Linked DNA regions of Homo sapiens: all the other regions are linked to region 2. The links are contacts of gene promoters, found by promoter capture Hi-C in human tissues and cell types (Jung and others, 2019). All regions are on one chromosome and are shown on one strand. The core of a region is centred on a gene start or on the middle of the fragment in contact, and the rest is flanking DNA. Distances in the headings are between cores, read along the strand shown. Region 1 overlaps EDRF1 (erythroid differentiation regulatory factor 1). Region 2 holds the start of CTBP2 (C-terminal binding protein 2). Region 3 overlaps LHPP (phospholysine phosphohistidine inorganic pyrophosphate phosphatase).

Region 1 (4,268 bases), core at 1,334-3,833, 570 kb before region 2:
CCCCCATGATCCATAAAAAGACTAGAAAAAGGAAGAGACAAAGAAGACAAAGTCAGGCCCCAGAGCTAAGATCACAAAGATGCTTAGAAAGCAGTTTCAGGATCAAGTGGAGTTTTTCCCTATCAATTTCGACTTAGGCTAGTTTTGAAATGACAAAGTAGACTGGGGATTTGCTGTCACCTTGGACACCATGGAAAGCATACCTGACTGTGCTCCCCGTCATTGAATAAAGTAATCAGGTTTTGTTCTTTGGGGGCTGAGGCCACATGCCCCACTATGTATGAGGGTTCAAGAGGCTCACTTCCCTGTGAAAAGTGCAAGGATAAGGAGTGATTCTGCTGTCAACATTTCTTAAAATTGACCCACTTTTGAGAGTATCACCTAAATATTCAAAGCACACACTTCAAATCTACCATTGTGAATTATTAGGCCAATACAAATAATAACACGCCTCATTGGGTGGCTTGCTTTGGCTAATGATCATAGCTACTATAAGAAGCGAATCACATTTAGATCTTACTCAAGAGAGATAGATTAAAGATTATTCTAAACTTTCTAAGTTTTTCATTTTTCTCTTTTTTGGTGCATCTGATTACCACTGCTCTTTCAGCCTACTCTATCTATATTGAATTTAAAAATTCCTAAGAAACTGGCCAGGCACGATGGCATGTGCTTGTAGTCCAAGCTATGTGGGAGGTCGACAGGGGAGAACTGCTTGAGCCCAGGAGTTCGAATCCAGCCTGGACAACATAATGAGAGTCTGTCTCTTAAAAAAAAGAAACCCTAAGAAATCTTACTCAGCCACAGTTTGAGATACTCATTATCTTAACAGTCTCCAGTTTAGCATTTCCTGATGAGTGTTTCACAGAACACTAGTTCCTGGGAAACTGAATGAAAATTTTCCAGAGTCAGGTTTGAAAGATGACGTTTACCAGGTACTCACTTTTGTGGAGTAACAATATTTATTGATATTAAAACAATAAATATATAATAAGTAATCCTGCAATAGAAAAATCTACTTTATCTTTGTAAAAACCAATGTTTCCCAAATGTATTTAATCTCAGAACACTTTTTGTTCTTAAGATATTCTCTGGAATACTTTTTTTTTTTTTTTTGAGACAGAGTTGCCCAGGCCAGAGTGCAGTGACATGATCTCAGCTCACTGCAACCTCCGCCTCCTGGGTTCAAGCAATTCTCCTACCTCAGCCTCCCGAGTAGCTGGGATTACAGGCACGTGCCACCATGCCCGGCTAATTTTTTTTTCTTTTTTTAAATAGAGATGGGGTTTCGCCATGTTGGCCAGGCTGGTCTCTAACTCCGGGCCTCAAGTGATCCACCCACCTCGGCCTCCCAAAGTGCTGGGATTACAGGCATAAGCCACTGCGCCCAGCCTGGAATGCATTTTGGAATACACTTGGGCCCTCTTGACACTGGGTAAACTCAGCCTACCACTCAATTTTCCAATCATTAGGAAAGTAGTACTGCCATTAAGAAATACTACTTTAAGCTTTTAATGTCATTGCCTCAACAGAACCCAAGACAGGCATGCGTGTGTTGCTTATTCCACAAACATCTGTCTTACTTGTCATCTGTGTGTGCCAGTAGGCTTGGCACCTGCTTGGGAAGAGTGTGTGACTATAAGCACAGGTGGCTCTCTAGCACTTCTATTGTGCCTTGTCCTCTCCCTCAGGAGTCCTAAGAGAACTTTAAACTCTTTTTTATTTTATTATTTGTTTACACAGACAAGTTATCAACTCATGAACCGATTCTCAAAACAGTTTGCCAGGCAGTTGCTTTAGTCAGAGTATGAGCTCTAGGTTACAACGTTCTCAATAAATGTCTGGCTCTAGGACCATCCCACAGTCACCTATTTAACCTCTATAACTGCTTAACAAAGGCCTCAAGCCAGCAGTTTTAGTTTTTGGAACAAGAATTTGTGCAGAGATAGCTTGCAAATATAAACAAATCTCTAAAGCTGAAATTTAAGCAATATAAGAAAAGTACTCTGTAAGAGACTCTTAAGGCAGGCTAGCTGTGCCTAGGGATACACCACTACTACGATGATCTGACTGTTAGTAGGGCCTTGCTGTGTGTGGAGTACACGGACACAGTGGAGTACTGCTGGAGGAACAGGCCTCTGCAGGCAGAAAGATCTGGGTTTAAGCCCTAGCCTGAGAGTTTCGCCAGCTGTATGACCATGTGAAACATCTTTTGATGAGCGTTAGTTTACTTATTTGTACAATACGCAGCTCCAAGAATGAAAAAAAAAACCTTGTACAAACATACACATGGCATAAGAGCTATTCAGTAAATGCCAGCTTGCTTCCTCAACACGCAAGTCTACAGATTCCCGACTCTCCAAGAGTTTTCACAGTAATTCCTAAACAAGGTAAAGACAGAACAACACTGGGAGATGGGTGACATGGGTAATAGGAGGGTAGTATTTGTATTATGTAGTCTTTTCTCCCTTCTGAATCATAGAACATCCCTACTTCTTGGTTGTTACCACTATGTGACTTGCATATTAATTACTTCCTTTTCCTTACATTTTTCTCACTTTTGAAAGAAATTTAAATTCATTATGGAGTTTTATGGGATGCTTTCTCTATCTTAAACCTACTGAAACTAAAATCGAGTTAAATGTATCTGCTCCCTGTAATTTGTGAAGATTGAAACAATCTGGTTGAATAGTGCTCAATATGTGGGAACACAACAGCAAGAGGGAAGACGTAACTTATCAAGTCACAGATCTTATTATCTATTTATCAATCTATTTTCCTGAAAATAGACATGTCACAATTTACATCTATGGCTTTATTTTATTCTTTGATAGATACAGTAAGTACAAAAATAAACAAGCATTAGGAAGAAACAAGGATGTAAGAGATAAAATGGACAACCTAGTTCATTCTCTTTTCTAAAACTTTTATAACATGAATGTGGACTAAGTTTCAGGAATTTTATCTGGAAAACCTTAAAGGGATATTTTAGGTCTAACAATCTGACTGAAAGTTATGGTAAAAAGGTTAGAACTTAAATTACAAATGGGTCTCTGAGTCTCAATATTTGGTAGGAAATGTCTATCAAATATTGACAGATATTTATAGTTAAAATAGTATTTATAGTTAAAAATGACTAGTATTTATAATTAAAATATACTATATCTCTATATAATACTCATCACTTGAAGGAGATAATCAGTATTAATAAACATATCAGTCAACTATTATATTTCGATTTAATAAAAAAATCTGATCTCCCCACCTATAATAGCTCTTGTAAATTCTATTGCGAAAAACTAAAAAGTATTTCTCCAATTCCATAAATTGACAGAAGTCTTTTTTCCCCCATTCCATAAGCTGACAGAATATTTCTTAGTCCTGTTCATCTTTTTTTTTTTTTAACGAGATGTTAAAAAAGGCTTTGTTTTCCTATGTGAGTTTCTAGAATTAGCATTTAAGTACTAACCTGACTGGAAGCACTGGGATCTTCAGAAACTGAAGAAGGCATTTCGAAGGGAGCAGGCCATGAAGCCCCTTCCGAATCATTTGTCTGATCTGAACTGGACGATTCCTGCTGTTCTGCGGTGGATGAGACAGGCTGAGCGGCTCCATCACCATTGATACTGGCCAAACCAGAAATAAAAAAGGATTGCTGTTACTAAAGTTAACTTCATGCAACAGTCTACCCGTTTATAAAAACTACAATCTGTAATTAAGCATACATCTTGTAAAAAAGAAATATGAAACAAATGTTAACAGTATCACAGGGGCAAAACTTAAATTATAACTTCATTAAGCTTCACACTAAATTTTAGATCAGAATTCCCTTTTTCTCTTTAGAGATAAATAAGTAGCCAAGTACCTGTAATATAAAAACTTGGAAAGAATTGCCTTTTGATACCAGTGCTCTTTGCTCTTTTTCTTCCTCTGCCACTTCTGATCAATGAGTCTTTGATAAAACTCTTTCAACCATGTCCAGTCACCAGTCTGGATAACATGAGATACATATTATTAATACAACACACATAGTCGAAACAATGTTACCTAGTACTAGCTTACAGAAAAGGCTCCTATTATTTTTTGAATAGTTTCATAAACACATACTCATTAAAAACATATCTTTCTGGGTCAATTCATACCACCTTTCTTTTGTTTTTTGTTTCCTAAAGGAAACCCGTCTTCCTCCTCCTAAGCCAGGCTGGGAGAGGTGAGTCTTCTCTATAACATGTTCCTTAGCAGCTGCAGTAGTTCCCACTTTGCACACT
Region 2 (4,327 bases), core at 274-2,773:
TCAGGGTAGTGAGAAGAGTTTGGGGGGCCCTGGGGCGCAGGGAGAAGACCCCACACTCCACGGCCACCAGCTCCCTTCCGGAGACGGCGCTCGGACGTCGCGGGTCACGGGCGGGGAATTTAGCCCAGGTGCTCGTTGGGCCGCGAGCGGCCGCTGGGCCTGGATTCCCAGGCTCGCTGTGCAGACTCCAACCTTGAGACGTCAGGACGGCGTGGGCTCCGGGCCGCCGCGCAAGCCCAGGACCCCGAGTCGCGGGCCCCCACGCCGCAGCGCGCCTCCCTCCTCGAGACCCGGGGCTCCGACCCAACACAGGGCTTCTCAAATGCCCCGGCGAGATCCAGGCAGCAAGAGGGAACCTTTTTTTTTTTTTTCAATGTGTAAGAATGTTTTGCTTCTTTTAGGGCACAGCACTGCTGCAACTTGCAGCACAGAGGGCCCTTCCCTGCGCACCCACAGCGGTCGCCGCCTCTCCGGCACGGTCTCCCGGATCTGGATTTGGGGAGCGCAAGTGCCCCCTGTGGCCGGCCCGCGCCTGACCCCGCGGGCCTGAGAAGGCAGAAGCGGCCGGTGCGGGGCACCAGGAGGAAGTTGGAGCCCGGGGGCCGGGAAGGGGGCTGGTTGGCGCCGCTGGCTGGGCGGGGCCCCATGGGACCGGGGCCACCCGGGGCTCGCGTTCCCCCACGTGGCCGGCTGCCCGGTACCCCACGTGGAAGGGGCGGAGGAGGATGAAGGGCCAGGGGAGCAGCGGACCCCGAGCCACCGCGACAGGACCTCGGCCCCTGCCACCGAGGCCCCCGCGCCTCCCGAGGGCCTCCCGGGCGGGGCCGGGCTAGGGAGTGCCCGCCGCGCCCGGCCCCTGGCCCTCCCGCCCGCCGCGCTTGTGTGCACTTTCGCGGAGCCACTAATCCCCCGAGAGAGCCGATTTGTAGTGAGGAGTATCTGAAGGGGGCGAGGCCGGCCCATGTGGGGTTGTGTCATTGGTTTGCAAAAAGAGACCCCGCCTTTGCCCCCCCCCCCCAAAAACAGGAGCGAGGAGTGAGCGAGCGGCGACCCTCACCTCGCCTCCCGCCTAGCTCCTGCGCAGCCAGCGGGTACCGGGAGCTGCGGCCAGCGCCGCTTCTTTCCTTTCCTTTTCTCTCCGTTTTCCTTCTCCTTCCCCGGAGGAGAAAACAAATAAAGAAGAGCAAATAGCCGGGAGGCGCTCGGCATCCAGGACGTTCCCTCCCCCGATCCAAGTTGGAATTAGCATCCTCTCGGGGGTGAGCGCGGCGCGGGGCGGGCCCGGGCCGGGGACCCCCAGCGCAGCCCCCTCTCGGCGGGCGGGAGGGCGCGGGGCCGGGACGCGGGGGGAATTGGGAACCGGGTGGGCGGAGGAAGGGGGTGGGGTGGGTGGGGAAGTAGGAAGAGGCTCGGCGGCGAGGGGAGGAGGTGGAAGGGAAGGGAGGGGTAGGGTGGGGAGGGGAGGGGAGCGGAGGGAGGGTGGGGAGGGCGGGAGGGGGAGGGGCGGGGAGCTGGAGAGATTAAGTTTTTGTGTGTGTGTCCCTGTGTGCGTGTGTCATTTTAAGGTGGCTCGGGAGCGGCCCGGAGGAGCCGGCGGCGGCCCGAGGAGCGAGGGACCGAACCGGGAGCCATGCCGCGCTGAGGGGGGGCCGCACAGCCGCCGCCACCGCCACCGCCGCCGGGTGGGGTGGGAGGGGCGGGAGACGCCGCCGCCGCCGCCTCCAGGGTGGGCGCCTTTCGCCGTGGACGCCGACCGTCCGGGACGAGGTAAGGGGGGCCCCGGGGGAGGGCTGGGGCCGCCGCCGCCCCCGCCTCACCTGCGGCCGCGGGCTGGGGGCGCCGCGCCCGCGCCTCACTGCGCCACTCAGGGAGGAGGAGGAGGAGGAGGAAGAGGGCGAAGGACGCGGAGCCGGCATCCGAGGACATCTTTGGTCCGTGCCCCCGGCCTCGTGTCCCCCCTCGGCGCCCGGGGGTGGACGCTGGCTCGGGGGTCCCCGCCCGCCCCCGCCACCGATTGCGCCCGCTGGCCGCCGTTTGCGCCAGGATTTTTGTTGTTGTGATGAGAGTTGATGAATGCGAAGTAGGCGGTCACCTTCCTTCCCATCAGGGTTGAAAAAAAAAAAAAAAGAAACCCCGAGCGCGGCGGCGTCCGGAGGGCAGCGGCGGCGGCGGCGGCGGCGTCTCGGCGACGGTTCCCTGGGCGCCCCCGGCTCCTGCTCCCTGAGCCCGGTGGGTGCGCGCCCGGGGGCCGCCGGCGACCCAGGCCGAGCGCGCGACGCGCCGCGGGGACAATACGGCCGGATCTCCGGGGAACAGGAGTCCGAGCGCGCCGGGGTGCGGCGGGCCTTGCGCCTACGAGGCGAGGGTGGGGGGGGCGCGGAGAAGAGGGGTTCCGTGGGGAAGTCGGGGCGTGAGCGGCTCTCGGTCCCCAGGGGCGCTGCCCCTGCCGGCGGGGGATCCCGCGCGGCTCCCCGGGAGCGCAAGTGAAAGACGGGAAAGGAGGCGAAGTGGAACCCTTTTGTTTTGCCGGCCCCGCATTGTTGGCTCCTCCGGGCAGCCGGGCCACATCTGCTGCCGCTGCCGCCGCCGCCACTGCCGCGCGGGGCTCGGCCCGCCAAAGTCGCGGCGGGGCGGGGGGCCTGGGCGGGCCGGGCGGCGGGCGCGGGCGGGGGCCGGGCGGGCCGGGCATTTCCTCTGCCCGGCCGCGCTCCCGCGGGCACCACTTCCTCCTCGCCCGCCGCCGCCGGGAGCCCGGCCCGCCCGCCTCCCCCACCTTCCCCGCCCGGGCCGCACTTTTCGGGTGGGGCGAATCAAAAAGAAAAAGTTTAGCAGGAGGGGCTGGCTAGGGCGCGCCCCGGGCGGCAGGGACCCGGTGCGGCGCAGGGACAGCCGGGCCGCCGCGGTTCCTCCTCCTCCCAGCCCTCCGCGGCGCCGGACGGCCCCGCGCGGCCGAGGGGAAGCGCCTTTCTTTCTCTCCCTCGCGCTGCCCCCAGCGCCCCGGGCGAGTTGGGCAGAGGCGCGCGGGAGCCGGGGCGTGCCTGGGCCTTTCTCCCGCGGGAGGCCCAGCGGCGTGGCGGGTCGCCTGCAGCCCACGCCGCGCCCTGGGGCTCGGAGGCCGCGGGCCCAAGAGCTCAGCTCGGTCACCGCGGGCCGCGCCGAGACACACACGCGCGCACACACTCCCTCCCGTGGCTCGCTTTCCGCCGGCGACGACGGTCGCGGACACGGAGTGAGCGTGTGCGCGCGAGTGTTTGTGGTTGTCCCCCCTCCCCCCGCCCGGTACTTTTTCCGGAGGCGGCCCAAGCGGCAGTTGGCTGCAGAGGACCCCACGTTTAGGATTTTATAGGGAAGAGGAGGAATTTTTCGTAGAAATCCCCGCTCTGCGTGCTCGTGGTGGAGGCTGCTGGCAATGGCCTACGTCGTCATACCGGGCTTCCTTGCCCTGTCCGGGGTAAACAATCCTTCTGTGTATTTACCCCCTTTTTTCTTTAAAGATTGGAGATCGGGTTAAGTTCTTAGAGAGTCTGATGCGAGTGGCTGGAAGGATAGACAAGAGAATTCTATTCTATAAATATGCATTGGGAATTTAAAATGCTAAACGCCTTATTTGCAATTCTGTTGGATATTCTAGAGACTGGTATATTTTTATCTGACATGGATAATTTTGAGGGGACGTTATATTTTGGGGAAGTTTACAAAGTGATTCTTTCTGCCTTTCTAACTTGGGCGAAATATATCGACTCATACCACCCTTTCAAAAAAGATAGCTTTCTCTACTAGGTGTTTGGGTTCGAAGACAGTTTAAAAATTACCTCGTGTTCAGTACCTAAGATTGCTGTTTTGCCTCGAGGGTTTTCCAAGTAGAAGTGGGTAGTTTTCATGTACTTTGAGAATTCTGAGGTTTTTAACCCCCCCCTTTTTTTTTAAATATAAATCTTTTCTATTTTGAAGTAATGAGACTTTAAAGGATCTTGTTTTTGTAATCACTTGATTTCAAAGGATACTTCTTACAGCAATTATAAAGTAATAGTCAAAATGCTAATTAGACATTTTCAGTCATAGCTGCTTTAATGTTGAAACAGAATTTTTTTCTTTAGCAGAGACTGTATCGTAGAGTTGAAACGCTAAATATTCTTTTGTCTGGCATCAGATCTCTGAACTGCTCTGACATTCTCCTGAAAAACCCCTAGTGCCCTTTTTATTGCCCCCAAAAGAAAAGTTAATGAGATGGTAGATTTCAAGCAAAAAAACAGGCCCTCTTTCTTGCAAAATATGCTTACAGTTGCCATTGAAGTTGGATGTTAGCCGTGAATGCACTTGCCTTTAA
Region 3 (4,286 bases), core at 1,562-4,061, 630 kb after region 2:
GGGGTCTGGCCCTGGGCTGGGGCCCTCTGCAGCGTGGGACCCTTCAGGCCACATGGTCTTGTTCATCTCATCACCCTGCACACTGCGGAGCACACGGCAAGTGCCTGCAAAGCTGGGCTGTGTCTTGGATATAGTGCGGGTGGCAGAAGCGGGCCACCTGGGTGAGGACGGGGGGTTTGTCCACTCACACGGGGGTAAGGGAGGACAGAGGCAGGGAAGAGCCATCTCCTCCTCGCCATGCAGTAGGCCTTGACCTTTACTTATTTAAATGAAAAGTCAACGTTTCCAATCAAGCGCCTATCCTTCTGGGAGGGGCTGGTCCCCAAGGCGTGCCACACTCTGTCCGGGTGACACTGACTGCCACAAGGTCATCGGAAGTAAGGGAAGCCTCCAGGCTGTGCTTGGGCAGACGCTCTCCCCTCCCCATCCGAGGACACAAACTTTTGGGTGACATGGTCCATCCAACCCCCCACGCCCCTGCCGCCCCCAACTCTGCACAAAGTGAAGGCAGGAAGCCGCTCTGGGGGGTGCATTTTGCAAATCAGAGCACATGGTCCCTGGGCGAGTTTTCCAAGCCAAGCAGTCTCCCTCAATGGTCTCAGTTTATGGCCCTGTGGTTCTATCCAGAAGTGTTGGCCTGGCTGAATCTGCCCTCAGGAATATCTCAGATGCCTGCAGAGGCCAGGCTGACAACCCCAGGCCGTGATGCACCCAGCATTCCACTCCCATTGCTTCCCTGAACTACCTCCTGCAGCCATGTATTAATGGAGCTCCTGTAATAAAGGTGCTGAGGATACCTGGGAAGTAAGTCCAAAATAAGTCCATTTTACAGATGAGAAAACTGAGGCTCAGTGGTCTTCCTGCCAGCAAGCAGTGGGGCAAAGATTTGAGCCTGGGCTTCTTCTCATTTCCAAAGTACAAGTCCCAGCCCAGTCGAGCACCTGAACATCCCAGAATGCCCCTTCCTCGGGACACTTTGCCACCACATAGCTAATCTTCCATAGGGGCCATAGGGACAGTTGGGACAGACATGCTGGCACTGTCCTGCTACACCCTTACCAGCTGGGTGATGCTGGGTGAGTCTGCAGCTTCCCTGGAAAACAGAGAAGACTTTCTATGCCTACCCAAGAGGCTTGGAAGAGAACCACAAATGCAGAAATGGCCTGGGAAGCTGAAAAGGTTTCTCCCAATAGGGAGGATTGTTGTTATTCAGTTTAACAAACGCAGAGTGTCCACCACAGGCAAGGTCAGGGACTTGGCTCTACATGGGATAGAGCGATAAGCAGATGGAGAGAGAATGAGGAAGCCAGGCTTCTCCCTGCTGTGGAAGGAAGGCATGAACGTGTAAAGGCATGAGGTGAGAAGGAACCCTGTGCTGCTGGACTGGAATCGGAGGCACTGCTGTGAGCTCGGGCTTTTGGGCAGGTCCAGGTGGGTAGGGTAAGCATGGACGCATGTGTGTGTCACACCTGCATACCATGCGCATCTTTCCTACCTCTGTCCACCGCCAGGGCCTGAGCAGCAATGCCCAGAGACAACACAAGCACACCTGGGGCCCTGGGCTGAGATTCTAAACAGTGCCCTCCACTGGAAGGAACTGGGGCTCCTTGGAGAAATGGCCGATTCCAGGGCTGAAGCAAAGACTGAACAAATGAACCTGAAACATCTTTTTGGGCCAAAATGCAAGGAAGGGCTCAAAGAACGGTGAGGATGTGCCGAAAGGTCACAGGGCCAGCCTGAAGGGGCTGCCAGTGCCTGCGTCGGGGACCATCTGAATATCCCAGTGATGACGGTTAACAGACGATAACCCACTGAATTACATAGGAAGCCACGAGCCCACACTGGCATACATCAATCAGTGGAAAGAAGAGAACATCTTTCCTTAAAGTAAAACACCAGGAGTAAATACAAGGAAGAATGATGGAGTTATTTGGCGACCATCATAGAAATCATTCATTCAAACAAGAAATACTAAGGGACACTAAAACTGGCAGATGAAAGTGGGACATCGCATCACCTCAAAGCATCTCCCCACAAATACGTATCAATCACAAAGGGGAAAAACACATTATGTGGTTGCCATTAAACAAGAGGTCAAGGTTAACATCAGCAATATTTGGGCAAACCAACATTACATGCCTATGAGAACAAGCACAGCACCACTTCTAAGCAATGCTAGCCCCAAACGCGTAACTTGGGTTGTATCATGAGAAAACACCACACAAAATGACTGTCTCGTAATCTTCAAAACTGGCAATCTGTGAGAACTGAGGCGAGGACAGGGAAGTGCTCCAGGACGGAGTCCAGAGAGACCAGAGAGAGCTGCCTGGCCCCGGACTGGGTCTTCCCCTCTCTAGAGGAGTTCATGGAATGATTGGCAAAGCTTGAATGGGGTCTGTCTCTGGGAGAAGGGTGTATGGAATTTCTTTCTATTCTGGAAATCTGAAAAATTATTTGAAAATGAGAAGGCTGCGGGAACTCCAGGGAGTGCCAGGTAATTCTTCTGGAGGTGAGACTGTGTTTTGGGTACAACAGAAACGAGCTTGACATGGCAGCCAGCCCACACCCCAGCTTGCACGGGATTAGCACATGACCTTGAGACGGGGTGTGGGGTTGGAGGGCAGCGGATCCCTCAGGCCCTTGCAATTGGGAGGACTCTGGAATTCCATCACCAGGGAAGGCCTTGAGGATATGGCAGGATCCAGGCAGGCCAAAGAAGAGGTGGTGGGACAGGTGAAGGGCGCAGACAGCATGCATAAAGGCTCCAGGTGGGACTGGCAGGAGGGGAGCTTGGCGGGTGGGCGTGTCCTCATCCCAGGGACCTGGCCTCTCCAAACTCGCAGGGAACACTGGGAGGCCCCCAATGCCCAGAGCGTGTTCTTAGGCCTCTCTCTGACAAGGTGCCAGGGAGACAAGAAGGACGGGCTGGTGAGGCTGATGAGGCTACCTTGGCCGCTCTGCCTGCTTCAGGCCCAGGGAATCCAGGGCTGCAGGAGACTCTGATGGTGGCCCTCGGCCCTGTGCGCTGTGGTGTTCTCCATGCTCATCGTCTGCACCCGTGAAGGGTGGCAGAGGAGAGGGTCAGTGTCCTGAGGAATGGGCAGGCTTGTGGAAGCCTGGCTAAAGCAAGCCCGTGGTTCTTGGAGCTGGGGCCCCAGGGCCCCGAGAGGCAGAGGGCACACAGGGCATGGGGGTGGTGCGGCATCTGGGAGGGAATGAGTGGGGTGTGAGCAGGCCCACATGTGTGGCCTGGGGCGTGGGGGGGTCTGGGCGTGAGTGTATGTATATGTGTGTGTGTGTGTGTGTGTGCATGCACTATGAGGCCAGCATGAGAGTGGGCACCTGTGGATGTGTGGCCTGGGCCTGAGAACCTGTGGGGCCTGGCGTGCGCACATGTGGATGCGGGATCGTGTGGGTATGGGGGCCCCTCGTGAGCACACGTGGGCCCGGGTGAGTGTATGTAGCTGTGCGTGCATCGGCCCTGGCTCCAGCAGGCCCGGCCTGTCCCATCCCTGGCAGCAAGGCGCCCTCTTGTGGCCCGAGCAGGTGGCGTGGGGAGGAGGAAATGAGAGTGAACCCTGAGAGGTCCACCAGGCTGGGACGCAGGAGGGGTGGGGCGGGAGGCAGGAGGCGGCAGGCAGGATGCCAGGTGGGCATGCAAGAAGGCCGGATGCACACTGCCCTGGGGGCCTGGGGATCCTTGCTGGCCCCTGCCCACCGCTCCTGGCTTCACCAGGTTCCTCCCTCCCCGCATTGGGGTGTCCTCTCTGATGCAGGGCAGACGGGCTTGGACGGCCTCATGGGATGCATGCGGGTGGCCTGGGCCCTGTGGCAAGGCACCTCTCCAGCCGCCCCCACTTGGGACCACACTGCCAAAGACCAGCATGCCATGTCTGCCCCTCACACCGCATCTGCAGGGCTGATTCCCCACACCCCTTCCCCGCTGGGGCAGCTGGGATCCTGCCCTCCCACAGGCAAAGAGAGTGCGTGGGTGCATGTGCGCATGTGTGTGTGTGTGTGTGTGCGTGTGTGTGTGTGTGTATGTGCATGAGCTGGTGTCTAGGACCCGCATGTGAGTGTGGGATGAAATGAGGCCATCTCTGCATGGCTCCAGGGAGAGGGGATGCTGGGACAGAGTGCAGGGCGTGGCCCCTCGTCCTCCCCCTCACGGATGGCTGTGGCCCAGGATGTTGAGTCTACAGTCATGGAGCCCCTGGCCCTCAGCTCCTGGATTAAACCCTTGGAAAGTGTAGAGCACTCCTCTGCACAAATTTTTGCTCAGTAAT

What was found. Contacts are between HindIII fragments. The study calls those that stand out against the background at their distance.
Region 1: a fragment that was not itself captured here is called in contact with the fragment with the promoter of CTBP2 in region 2 in 1 of the 25 tissues and cell types used here (hippocampus).
Region 3: a fragment that was not itself captured here is called in contact with the fragment with the promoter of CTBP2 in region 2 in 1 of the 25 tissues and cell types used here (adrenal gland).

What each region holds. Positions count from the first base shown.
Region 1 is chr10:125,725,040-125,729,307 of GRCh38, reverse strand. It overlaps EDRF1 (erythroid differentiation regulatory factor 1), which reads right to left. Exons shown (of 25, transcript NM_001202438.2): 5 at 3,866-3,990; 6 at 3,470-3,626; 7 at 204-305. Among named protein-coding and RNA genes, the nearest start is that of EDRF1, 7.5 kb to the right of the region's middle. The HindIII fragment of the contact is 3,858 bases long and covers 655-4,268 here.
Region 2 is chr10:125,157,759-125,162,085 of GRCh38, reverse strand. CTBP2 (C-terminal binding protein 2) reads left to right here and starts at 1,523. Exons shown (of 11, transcript NM_001329.4): 1 at 1,523-1,767. RefSeq lists an enhancer at 143-752. The HindIII fragment of the contact is 19,174 bases long and covers 1-4,327 here.
Region 3 is chr10:124,529,552-124,533,837 of GRCh38, reverse strand. All of the region lies in intron 6 of LHPP (phospholysine phosphohistidine inorganic pyrophosphate phosphatase), which reads right to left. Among named protein-coding and RNA genes, the nearest start is that of LHPP, 70 kb to the right of the region's middle. RefSeq lists enhancers at 1-211, 212-745 and a silencer at 3,622-3,741. The HindIII fragment of the contact is 8,411 bases long and covers 1-4,286 here.